Linked DNA regions of Homo sapiens: region 1 is linked to region 2. Evidence: promoter capture Hi-C in 16 types of primary human blood cells and fetal thymus (Javierre and others, 2016). All regions are on one chromosome and are shown on one strand. Each heading gives the region's core, a stretch centred on a gene start or on the middle of the fragment in contact. The rest is flanking DNA. Distances are from core to core; before and after follow the strand shown. Region 1 overlaps ARHGEF40 (Rho guanine nucleotide exchange factor 40). Region 2 holds the start of RNASE1 (ribonuclease A family member 1, pancreatic).

Evidence for each region. The method cuts DNA at HindIII sites, captures the fragments that hold promoters and counts their contacts. A CHiCAGO score of 5 or more calls a contact.
Region 1: a contact is called between a fragment that was not itself captured here and the fragment with the promoter of RNASE1 in region 2, in 1 of 17 cell types (monocytes). The highest score is 5.1, in monocytes.

Annotation. Positions count from the first base shown.
Region 1 is chr14:21,072,342-21,078,584 of GRCh38, forward strand. ARHGEF40 (Rho guanine nucleotide exchange factor 40) reads left to right here. Exons shown (of 24, transcript NM_018071.5): 2 at 704-901; 3 at 1,591-2,839; 4 at 2,991-3,158; 5 at 3,304-3,424; 6 at 4,019-4,115; 7 at 4,222-4,302; 8 at 4,433-4,549; 9 at 5,836-5,931; 10 at 6,032-6,147. Among named protein-coding and RNA genes, the nearest start is that of ARHGEF40, 5.2 kb to the left of the region's middle. The HindIII fragment of the contact is 1,623 bases long and covers 1,037-2,659 here.
Region 2 is chr14:20,797,886-20,804,458 of GRCh38, forward strand. It overlaps RNASE1 (ribonuclease A family member 1, pancreatic), which reads right to left and starts at 4,959. Exons shown (of 2, transcript NM_002933.5): 1 at 4,912-4,959; 2 at 3,343-4,208. The coding sequence starts at 4,183. The coding sequence ends at 3,713. All of the region lies in intron 3 of LOC105370397 (a long non-coding RNA gene), which reads left to right. LOC107984671 (a long non-coding RNA gene) reads right to left here and starts at 2,644. Exons shown (of 3, transcript XR_001750624.2): 1 at 2,019-2,644. The HindIII fragment of the contact is 7,079 bases long and covers 2,098-6,573 here.

The DNA of each region.
Region 1 (6,243 bases), core at 598-3,097, 270 kb after region 2:
TTTCTCTTTCAACTGCCCCCACCCGATTCTTTGTAATCCAATCCCACATGCTCTAAGATTGGGTGATTGCTTCAGAGCCACTGTGGGAGAAGGAAGAGGGATGCTAGAAAGACCCAAGACAGTCACAGACAGTCTTTCCATCCTCCTCTTTCCACCAAATGACCATCTCTAGCATATAAATGAGCATCTCTCTTTCACCAAATGATCATCTCTGGGACATAATTGTGGGTGATGGCACCTCCACCTAAGATGGGGAGCCCTGGATGGTGGGTCTTATGGGAAGGGATTTGCAGGATGGCTGTGTGGAAATCTCCCTCATCCCCTCGAGTTCTCAGCCATAAGCTCAGTCCCCTGATAGCCCAGAAGCCTGTCTTTTCTCTCCTGGGAAAGATCTATGCAATCACCCCAACTCACGAGCACCCGGAACAGCCCTGATCAGGGGCATTCACAACAAATTCTCCCTGGATCTCCAAAGCCAAGGTCTCAGAGCGGGAGTGTTGAGCGCCCTGCCAGGTTTGTGCACTCTGGCCCAGCCCCACTCCTGTTCTGGGCTCATCAGCCAGCATTTCCTGAGTGCTCACTTTTTGCCCACATTGTACAATCGGGGCTTTGGAGAACACAGCCAACCCCAGACCAGTGCAGCTCCCAAGGAGCCATGATTGGGTGATCTCTAGGGATCTGTAGCCTGGTCCTATCTCTACAGGAGCCTGAGCCAGTGGAGGACTGTGTGCAGAGCACTCTCGCCGCCCTGTATCCACCCTTTGAGGCAACAGCCCCCACCCTGTTGGGCCAGGTGTTCCAGGTGGTGGAGAGGACTTATCGGGAGGACGCACTGAGGTACACGCTGGACTTCCTGGTACCAGCCAAGCACCTGCTTGCCAAGGTCCAGCAGGAAGCCTGTGTGAGTGGCCGTGCATCACTATTCTGCCTTCCCCAAGATCCACTGCCACACTCTACAGACTAGCCAGGCTGACTAATGCCCCCACTAACCTAGAGATACAGCCTCCCTTGAAACCGATCTCTCCAGAATCACTTAAGCTTCATTCTCTGACCTCTCACAAACTTTGACCTTCACAGGCACTGACCATTCAGATGCTAACACACACACACACACACACATTCATCTTCCCCAAATTCATCTTGACCCCAATACTGACCCCCAAAGACCCTAACTCTCCAGACCCAATTCCAGACATCTTCTCCCCCTCATATGAATTTCTCAAGACACTAACTCCCCCGTACATTAGTCAACAGAGATCATTCATTTCTACAGATATAAAGACTCCTAAGAGTCTTTAGCTTCTCCAAGACAATGGCATCTGCTGACCATGTCTTGGTAACGATTCAGTTCTTACCCTCCCACACATGGAACTAGCTTCCTGAAGAATCTTCCTACTACTGGGAGACCGATCAGTCCCAATCCCTTCCTCTCTGCCACCTGAATACCCCAAATCTCCCCTCCTGCTCTCCTGAGAGTATAACCTTCCAGGCATAAGGCTGGTCCTGCCTAGGGTGGGCCCATTCTAACTGCCCTCTCCTGCTGGTTTCTTCAGCAGAGGCCTGAGTGCAGCCTCCCACCTCTCTCCCCAGGCCCAATACAGTGGATTCCTCTTCTTCCATGAGGGGTGGCCGCTCTGCCTGCATGAACAGGTGGTGGTGCAGCTAGCAGCCCTACCCTGGCAACTGCTGCGCCCAGGAGACTTCTATCTGCAGGTGGTGCCCTCAGCTGCCCAAGCACCCCGACTAGCACTCAAGTGTCTGGCCCCTGGGGGTGGGCGGGTGCAGGAGGTTCCTGTGCCCAATGAGGCTTGTGCCTACCTATTCACACCTGAGTGGCTACAAGGCATCAACAAGGACCGGCCAACAGGTCGCCTCAGTACCTGCCTACTGTCTGCGCCCTCTGGGATTCAGCGGCTGCCCTGGGCTGAGCTCATCTGTCCACGATTTGTGCACAAAGAGGGCCTCATGGTTGGACATCAGCCAAGTACACTGCCCCCAGAACTGCCCTCTGGACCTCCAGGGCTTCCCAGCCCTCCACTTCCTGAGGAGGCGCTGGGTACCCGGAGTCCTGGGGATGGGCACAATGCCCCTGTGGAAGGACCTGAGGGCGAGTATGTGGAGCTGTTAGAGGTGACGCTGCCCGTGAGGGGGAGCCCAACAGATGCTGAAGGCTCCCCAGGCCTCTCCAGAGTCCGGACGGTACCCACCCGCAAGGGCGCTGGAGGGAAGGGCCGCCACCGGAGACACCGGGCGTGGATGCACCAGAAGGGCCTGGGGCCTCGGGGCCAGGATGGAGCACGCCCACCCGGCGAGGGGAGCAGCACCGGAGCCTCCCCTGAGTCTCCCCCAGGAGCTGAGGCTGTCCCAGAGGCAGCAGTCTTGGAGGTGTCTGAGCCCCCAGCAGAGGCTGTGGGAGAAGCCTCCGGATCTTGCCCCCTGAGGCCAGGGGAGCTTAGAGGAGGAGGAGGAGGAGGCCAGGGGGCTGAAGGACCACCTGGTACCCCTCGGAGAACAGGCAAAGGAAACAGAAGAAAGAAGCGAGCTGCAGGTCGAGGGGCTCTTAGCCGAGGAGGGGACAGTGCCCCACTGAGCCCTGGGGACAAGGAAGATGCCAGCCACCAAGAAGCCCTTGGCAATCTGCCCTCACCAAGTGAGCACAAGCTTCCAGAATGCCACCTGGTTAAGGAGGAATATGAAGGCTCAGGGAAGCCAGAATCTGAGCCAAAAGAGCTCAAAACAGCAGGCGAGAAAGAGCCTCAGCTCTCTGAAGCCTGTGGGCCTACAGAAGAGGGGGCCGGAGAGAGAGAGCTGGAGGGGCCAGGCCTGCTGTGTATGGCAGGTGAGATGACACGGAGTGAGGCTCATGGGGCAAGGGCCAAAGCAGGTCGGGCCTATGGGAGGGGGCAGGAGGAGGAGCAGGGTTAGGCTGGGAGCAGAACAACCAGAACCATCTTAACTTCAGTCCCATGTTTCTGTCTGTGTCTGTGCAGGACACACAGGCCCAGAAGGCCCCCTGTCTGACACTCCAACACCTCCGCTGGAGACTGTGCAGGAAGGAAAAGGGGACAACATTCCAGAAGAGGCCCTTGCAGTCTCCGTCTCTGATCACCCTGATGTAGCTTGGGACTTGATGGCATCTGGATTCCTCATCCTGACGGGTCAGTGGGCATCAGTGGGTGAAGGGAAACAGGACTGGGAAAGAGAAGCAATTGGGTGGGCTTGGGGACTGGGGGAGGCAGGGTGGAAAGGAGGTAGGCATGGACTGCTCCCAGCCAGGACAGCCTGGCCATTTTGTGTCTTCAGGAGGGGTGGACCAGAGTGGGCGAGCTCTGCTGACCATTACCCCACCGTGCCCTCCTGAGGAGCCCCCACCCTCCCGAGACACGCTGAACACAACTCTTCATTACCTCCACTCACTGCTCAGGTAACCGAGGCCCAGTCCTGGCACCCTGGACACTAACCTCCTGATTCATGAGGACCCTCACCTCCTTCTTCTCAGGACACTGACCTTCTGACCTCTAAGGACACCTACTTCTTCAACCTTCAGACTTCAAGCCATTGACCTTTGGCCTTACTTACCCTGACCTCCAGCTTCATATCTTCACTGATCTTCAAAAGCAACACTGTTGACTTTCACTCTCTTCCAACCCTACCAAGATCATCAGGACATTGGTTCACTGATTCAACAAACATTTATTGAGCACTGAGTACCTATTAGGCACCATACTACAGGCTGATATTGAATGCACGCCATTTCAGAACAGAATTCTTAATTTTCCAGACCTTAATCCCTTGACCTAGTAGCCATATGAATATAGACCCCTGACTGCTAGGTGACTTCCTCTTGTACACACACCCCAGAATTTGGCCCTTTGCCCATTTCTTCCCAAATGTACCGGCAACTAATTTCTCCTCAGGACTATTAACTAAAAACAGACCCCGTATGTCTGCCTTGCCTTATCTGCTATCCCCCAAAACACACACACAGCAGCCTCCTTGGCTCTTCCTGCTCCCGCAGGCCTGATCTACAGACACTGGGGCTGTCCGTCCTGCTGGACCTTCGTCAGGCACCTCCACTGCCTCCAGCACTCATTCCTGCCTTGAGCCAACTTCAGGTAACCACCCCTCAAACAGGCAGTTCCCCTGGATCCTAACTCTTCACCAGTGGCCAGTCCAGGACACCCGATTGCCCAGTTTAGGGTTATTCTTTTCTGCCCTTAGGACTCAGGAGATCCTCCCCTTGTTCAGCGGCTGCTGATTCTCATTCATGATGACCTTCCAACTGAACTCTGTGGATTTCAGGTTTGAGCCCTTCATTCCCATCTAGTTTCCCATCAGTAGTGGGGAGAGGAGAAGAGGCTGGCTGGAGCCCCAGGCTGGTTTCTGAGTCCTTGGGTGCCCAGGAAGAAACCCCCTGCCTTACCCTCTACAGGGTGCTGAGGTGCTGTCAGAGAATGATCTGAAAAGAGTGGCCAAGCCAGAGGAGCTGCAGTGGGAGTTAGGAGGTCACAGGGACCCCTCTCCCAGTCACTGGGTAGAGATACACCAGGTAAGCTTCCCCTCTACCACCTAGCATGCTGGGAGCCAGGAATAACCCAGCTGAAGACATTCTAGGAGAGAGGCCATGTCCAGGACATACCATGAGGTTGCAAAAAAGTGGTTTCCATTCCATTCAATTCAACAAGTATTTATGGCTCCCAAATCATGAGGAAAACATGTGCACTGTGCCATGTTCTACTGGGGAGATAGGAGGAGTATGATAAATTATTATAATTATTATTTTTAGACAGTCTCACTCTGTCACCCAGGCTGGAGTGCAATGCTTCGATCACAGCTTACTGCAGCCTCGACCCTCTGGACTCAGGCGATCCTCCCATGTCAACCTCTTGAGTAGCTGTGGCTACAGGCATGTGCCACCACACCCACCTAGTTTTTGTATTTTTTTTTTTTTTTTTTTTGTAGAGACGGGGTTTTGCCATGTTGCCCAGGCTGGTCTCAAACTCCTGGACTCCAGTGATCCACCCGTCTCAGCCTCCCGAAGTGCTAAGATTACAGGCATGAGTGACTATGCCCAGCCAAATAAATTCTTAATATGACATTAAGTAGTGTATGATTTTTGGTGGGAGATAAATCATGAAACAAGTAGAGAAGAGTGCAAGATAGTGTCATTGGGTTTCTGGAAAGCACTGAGAGTCAAAAGGCTGGTTCTTGTTCCAAATTACTTTACCTCACTTGCAGAAATAGTGCCCTTTCTGTATCCGCTCCTTGCACCAACATCCAGGCCTCAGGATCCTCATCAGCGCAGTATAACAATCACAATATAATTGCTAAAGGTCCTTCCAGCACTTATCTCATGTAATTCTATGAATATAAGTGTTGTGAGTATTCAAGAAGAGAGAAATAAACATGATCTGAGCTGAGTATGAAAGAGGGGTCTGTAGATGGTCTCTAAGCTTCGCCTTTAGTGTCAAAGGGGAAATTGACATGAATAGGCAGAGAGAGGGGGTGTGACAGGGGGAAGCCCCACTGAAGACAGACAGGAAGGTCACAGTTACCAAGCTGTACAATGTGCCAGGCCCACGTTAGTTGCTAAACTGGCATCATCTCCTTAAAAATCACAGAAGCCTTTCTTATCCTGACTTTACAGTTGAGGAACTGAAGTTCAGGAAGGTTTCTGAACCTGCCCAACCTCATACAATTAGTTAGCAACAAAGTCAGGAACTGAATTCAGCATTGCCTCCATAAAAGTCTCTGGGGCTACCGCACCCCAACCCTAGGGCTTAAGTTCCTTCTTAAACTCTGATCCTCAACTCCATCCCTGCATGTGGGTTTCAGGAAGTGGTAAGGCTATGTCGCCTGTGCCAAGGTGTGCTGGGCTCGGTACGGCAGGCCATTGAGGAGCTGGAGGGAGCAGCAGAGCCAGAGGAAGAGGTATGAAATGAGATGGGACAGTGGGGGGATGGGATTGGGATGGGGCTGGGGTGGAGACTCTCTGGTGGAACCCCAACTGGCAACTCCTCCCTATCCCCAGGAGGCAGTGGGAATGCCCAAGCCACTGCAGAAGGTGCTGGCAGATCCCCGGCTGACGGCACTGCAGAGGGATGGGGGGGCCATCCTGATGAGGCTGCGCTCCACTCCCAGCAGCAAGTACGAAGTATGGGTGTGCGGAGGCAGGTGGAAGTGGGAGGTGGAGACACAGCTGAAGGCTGCCAACAAACCTTAGCTGCCAGACCATTCTTACTG
Region 2 (6,573 bases), core at 3,709-6,208:
CCTGCGGCCACACTACTCCCAAAAGGCACAGTGGAGTGTGAAACAGGTCTGTTTCACTCCAGAGCCAAGGCTCTGAAACACCATACCCCATGCCTCGGTGATAGTGGCTAACTTTCTGAGTGTCCACAGAACGCTGAACACTACGCTTTCTCTGAATGTCATCTTTACCACAGTACTTCTAATTAAGTGTTATGAATATTTCCATTTTACAGAAGTCCCACAGGCACTTGGAGTTGTTATCCTGTCTCAGGTTTTTAAAATCCAGGCTAGACCCATAAAAAATAAGCCAATCTTTGTAACTACTGCACTCCTTCCAACCTCCATTCATTCACTCCTTCTTTCACAAATGCTAGAAAAATGTTCCTTTGACTTAAGAATGTGTATGTCCAGACATTCCCTGGATTTTAAAAGGGCAGATTTTTTTTTTGGTAGAATAGTATATCCGTCTCTCTATGTTCATTAATAGTGCATTGGGAATTTCTGAATTGAACCATATTCCAAGAGTAACTGAGAACATGAACACTCATGAACCGAGAACATGAACTGAGAACATGAAAGCTCAGCTGATGGCAGGGGAGAAGTTGCAGAGGAAGCGTGAGGGCTGTTGCACACTAACTAGCTGGAGGTACACAACTGACCAAGCATGCACGAAGGCTGCCTCGCTTCACATCTTGCCAAGGGCTTTCATGCCCCTACTTTTTCTTTTCCCCTTACAGCAGCCTCAGAAGGGACGCAGGGCCAGTTCCCTAAGACCTGTTAACGGTTTCTAAAGTCCCTCCACTCCATCCAGCTGTCCCAGGAAGAAGTAGATGTTCATTTGTCCCCACAGACACTTCTATTCACCCCACAGCCACCCCATCCCCACCACCGTGGCATCTAATTTAGACCAGCCCGCCATAGGGATGTGTCAGGGCAGCTACGGATGCAATCCAAGAGAAGTGGAAGAATTGGTTAAAGGGTGTATTCATTTCCTAGGGCTGCCATAACAAAATGGGCGGCTCAAACGATAGAAATGCATTTATTTATTTATTTATTTTTTAAAATTTTGAGACAGGGTCTCATTGTTGCCCAGGCTGGAGCGCAGCCTCGACCCCCAAGGCTCAAGTGATCCTCCATCTCAGCCTCCCGAGTAGCTGGGACTATAGGTGTTTGCAACCTTGCCTGGCTAATTTTTTAATATTTTTTTGTAGAGACGGGGGTCTCACTATGTTGCCCAGGCTGCTCTTGAACTCCTGAGCTCAAGCAATCCTCCTGCCTCAGCCTCCCAAAGTGCTGGGGTTACAGGCGTGAGGCAGCATGCCCAGCCAGAAATTCATTTTCTCACTGGAGGCCAGAAGTTCAAGAACACGGTATGGCAGGTTTGGTTTCTCCTGCTTCCTCCTTCCTTGTTCTGCAGTGAGCAGGTCTATGCCAATGTACCCCCAAGGGCTGAGGGAGATGAGAGGCCAAAGAAAGGGCTTGACTGAAGTAGGAAACTAAGAAAATAACAAATAATAGCATACGTAATAATAATAAGAGAAATAACAATAGCTCATAGAATGAATTGCTGTATTAACCAAGGCTGAAAAGAATTTAAGTAGCCCCCCTGAAGTTAAAGTTAGAAGAGAATATTAACTGTCTGTCCCAAGAAACGTTAACCATATCTATCCTCCACATATTTTGTAGGCTCTGTAAACTCCTGTTTCTTTCTTCCCTGCACAGCTGCAAGGTCACAAGACAGATAAGCATAAGCTGCAAACCAAGTTCTCACAGAGATGTAAGACATGTTCCAAAAGTGTCACAGCGGCCTTTTGTTCTCACTTCTGTAAGCCTGCTTCACTTAGTTCCTGCCTCAAAATGCTTAAAAGGGACTCATTTTCTTTGTTCTTGGGCTCAGCCTTTTAGGACACAAGTCCGCTGGGCCAGTGTACACCTTAAAATAAACACCCTCCTGCACGCCATCTGGTCTCTCTGGTTCCTTAAATCCCACTTCATGACAAGTTCAGTTTCTCAGAAAGAAACATTTAATAGGGACTTACAAATAGAAGCCATGTCTCAGGCAGCCACAAGACAGTGGATCTCCGCACAGGCCCTGCAGAAAGTATTCTTTATATGGCAAGCTTCCCCACCCCCCACCCTGTGAGATGGAATCTTGCTCTGTCACTCAGGCTGGAATGCAGTGGCGCGATGTCGGCTCACTGCAACCTCTGCCTCCCAGGTTAAGTGTTGACAGATGCCAAAGGTAGTCTTTCAGTGGCTGTCAGGAAGGGTTGCCAAGAGTGGAGTGGACTCACAGGCTAAGAACACTGGGAGCCTGTGAGAGCCCACCAGCAAGCTCTGGGAGAGAGCTACCGCTCCACAGCACTTACTGAGGAGGGGAGCTTTCTTCCTGAGTTAGAGCAATGGCTTCCTGAGTTAGAACAATGGCTTGGAAGTCAGGAAACCTAGGGTGTAGTCCCGGCTGTGCCACTAACTAGCAACAAGCCATGTGCAAGTCACCGGAAAGGCAGGGGTCACATTTGGTCAGGGATGGCAAATGTGTGGCACACACACCCTTCCCCCTCTCGTGCCTTCGATAGAGGCTGTTGTTCAACCACACCACTGTCCAGAATTTTTTGCTACAGCATTTTGGGTAGGCACTTCCTTTTTTTTTTTTTTGAAACAGAGTTTCACTCTTATTGCCCAGGCTGGAGTGAAGTGGCACCATCTCAGCTCACTGCAACCTCCGCCTCCCAGGTTCAAGTGATTCTCCTGCCTCAGCCTCCCTAGTAGCTGGATTACAGGCACCTGCCACCACGCCCCACTACTTTTTGTATTTTTAGTAGAGAGGGGGTTTCACCATACTGGTCAGGCTGGTCTTGAACTCCTGACCTCAGGTGATCCACCTGCCTCAACCTCCCAAAGTGCTGGAATTATAGGTGTGAGCCACCACGCCCGACCGGCACTTCCAATTAGAGTTGGTACACAAACTGAAATCTACTTGCTATCCCTCAATTCCGTGCTCTCCAAAGTCACTTCTGGCTCTAAAATGTAAGGTTCTGGCTTTCCAACTAAGAGGTGCCCATTTTTCTGATTTAGTAATAGCTCACTCAAAAAAAAAAAAGGAAAATGGAAATTTAGGATCATAATTTCATTGAGTCCTCTTCCCCACCCTGAGGCTAAGCAGGATCTTCCTGAGGTCACACTTGCCTTCCTTCTGTGCCAGAGAATGATTGTATTTGAGCTTCACCCCTCTGTCAGTTCACCCTGCATGGCAGTGTCCCAGGCTGTAGCTCCCTTTTGTCTAAAACAGCCCACACTTAACAGTTTTATGTTTGGCATCAGGGAATCTACAAGGAAAGGAATTTTCTCAAGCCACTAAAATCCAAGTCAGAAGGGAAGGCATTTAATTACTCCATTCACCGTTCTCCAAAGTGAATCAGATTTACAGTTCTTACCCCTTGCTGGAAGGCAATGCCAGAAACAGTACCTAGACAGAACCGCTTCAGAAATCAGGTGTTTGCAACTGCGTTTTATTGAAAGAAAGAGTGGAGGGGTTAACATGGGGCCCACCTCACAACCCACTCTTCACCCCCAAAATCACGCAGGGATGGGACTCAGGAAAGGGAAGCATGTGTGTGTTGAATAGGAGCCCTAACTGTAGTTACTTCTTTCACAGCAGGGAAGGAAGAGGGAAGAGGCAGCTGTGGAGAGGATGAGGTTGAGGGAGGTGGGGTATCTCGCTGCTCTGACCTTAGGTAGAGTCCTCCACAGAAGCATCAAAGTGGACTGGCACATATGGGCTCCCTTCACAGGCCACAATGATGTGTCTCTCCTTCGGGCTGGTCCGGTATGCACAGTTGGGGTACCTGGAGCCGTTTGTCAGGCGGCAGTCTGTGATGTGCATGCTGGAGTTGCTCTTGTAGCAGTTGCCCTGCCCGTTCTTGCAGGTGACCTTTTCCTGGAAACAGACATTCTGGACATCTACCAGGGGCTCGTGCACAAAGGTGTTCACTGGTTTGCACCGCCCCTGTGTCATATTCCGGCGCCTCATCATTTGGTTACAGTAGGTGGAGCTGCTGCTGGGGGAACTGTCTGAGTCCATATGCTGCCGCTGGAATTTCTTGGCCCGGGATTCCTTGCCCAGGGAAGGCTGGACCCAGCCCAGCACCAGCAGTATCAGGACAAGCAGAAGGAGCCGGACAAGAGACTTCTCCAGAGCCATGGTGGCCTCACTTTCCCAGAAAAGCCTAATTGAGAAAAGGAGAGAGAAGGAAAAGAGCCCTCTTAGAAAAAGAACTCCAGCTCCCACCTATGGCTTGCCTGGTTTACACTTTCTGTTTCAGGTCAGCCAGAAAGACGTCCATCCTACTTCCTGAGGTTTTTCGTGTAATGAGACACTCACGTGTACCCTTTTCCACGAGCGTTTTATTCCCACTCTCCAAAGCGAGGTCTTCCTCCCCTCTAGGTGGTGACCTACAAAGTGACCTAAAATCCTGTCAGTTCCTATCTTTGAATACTGGAGTTTCTTTGATCCAAAATACATTTGTACCCAGTGCTCAAATGGCTCATCGAAACATCAGTTTGAATAAATCATGAACCAAATTGTATCCCCGACATCCAGGGCCATGGGTGACAGAGCCTTGTTGTCTTGGAGCATAAGGGAACTCAGGCCAGTGCCTGACACTGGCATCATAAAAGATTCCATTGTATTCCAGAGAGAAACGCTGGCCTCCCCCAATTTGGAGGCTCCTTCTTCTCCAGTCCCATGGATGCTCTGCAGCCTGCACGTTCCACCCTGACCCCTCTGCCCCCAGCTGATGTTTGCCTGGGCCACATTTTTTCAGCGCTAGCATCACCCAATCTTTCTCAGTGCTGTGGACTGGCCCTAGCTCCCTCTTCTGCAACCCTGAAGCAGAAGCGGCACCTGAGAACACCTCTTGGGCTGCTTACCTGGATCTGCAGCTTGGTGTCTGAGAGAGATGGAAGGCCAGTTTCTGCAATCACTCAGCTCCCGGGGTGTGGACCTTATACAGATTACAAAGGGGTTTGGCTTCCAAGAGGAAAAGGGTGGGAGGAGCATCTGGAGCTCAGTTCAAATAAAATCAAGGACGTGAGGAAGGAGTGGTGAATCACCCAGGCCGCCGTCTTTCTAGGGCTGCTGAAGAAAGAGCAAATCTTTGCCTACGTTAGTCTTTCTTCCTATGTGAACCACATCTGTCTGCTGATGCACAAGGAGCAGCAGAGAAAGCCACTACAGCACTGGTGCCCAAACCTGGCACACTAGGAACAAAGTCCTTGTTACTTCTTCGTGGGCGTTTTCACCAAGTAGACTTGGAGGTTAACAAAGGACGCAAAGGAGAGGTTCTAATGGGAGATAGGGAATTCTGGCCAAAGCTATTCCAGGGCTCCTAGGGAGCAAAACCCAAGTCTCTTTCTAGGAGGGCATTCTCCCAACGCTACCTCTCCCGGGGATGGGAGGCGGGGTCGGGGGGAATGGAGGCTGTCCTGCTGCCCCCAGCTGGAAGGCTTCCCAGATCTGGAGAAGAAAGGGGGAGTAACTGAATAGGGAGGAGGAGGAGGCCTCTAGGGTGCGCTCACCCAGTTCTGGCCACTTCCCACCCACCCTCCACCCCTGCTCTGGGGGCATCGAGAGGATGGGGCTGTTCTTATCTACAGTAACCACTGACCCTGTAGGTCGGAATTGAGTAGAGGAACTAAAGATAAACTTAAATCCCAAATCTCAAATTCTTTTTGGGGAAAAAATACAAAGAATATCATATTTATTAGCAGCAGAATGCCCTCCTAGAAAGAGACCTGTTTTTTTGCTGAGTAACAATTTGGATACCTCTAAGAATTATCAAAATATCCCTTCGTGCTGTGTATTCAGATTGTTTCAGCCTTTCTGTGTAAAAAGTGGCCATAGTGAAATTATCTGACCTACCTTGTGTGATTGTAGGTCGTAAGATCCTCATTCCAGAGAGGGTCCTGCCCCCCATACCCAGAAAAAAAGGACGAATGCTCAGAGAGGCCAAGAAGAATCTAGACAGGGAGGCCTTGCTGGGTTTCCCCACTCAGTCTATTTTCATTAGATCGCCCTGTTGTCCAGTCATATTTCTACACAGCTGTTCATACTTTGTTGATATCCAAGTGTAAGAATGCCCACTTTCCCCTGTTATCTTTGGGTCTTCTGAAGGCTCCCGTGTCGTGTAAAACTACGATCAAATCAATTTGTATGCGTTTTTTCCTATCAATCTGTCTTTTGTCAGTTGATTTTCAGCAAACCTTTGGAGGGTGAAAGGGGAATTTTTCCTTGGCCCCTACAGTTTCCTTACTCCCCCAGCCCCCACCTGTATTTTATTTTTCTGAGTCTTTAATAATACTTTTATTCTCTTGAATAGTCAAGTTAGAATGTGTTCATTCATTCATTAGACTGTGGGATACAGACATAAATAAGGCACAGGACTCACCTGAAGGGCGCCTGGTGGGATGGTTTGGTTAGTCAGGTGGACCCCACTAAGGCACTGGGCGTGGCTGCACAAAAGTGGCCTCCACCCAGCAAGATGATTTCAGAACCACAGTTCAGATGTGAACAGATCTTCTGTAACTATAATA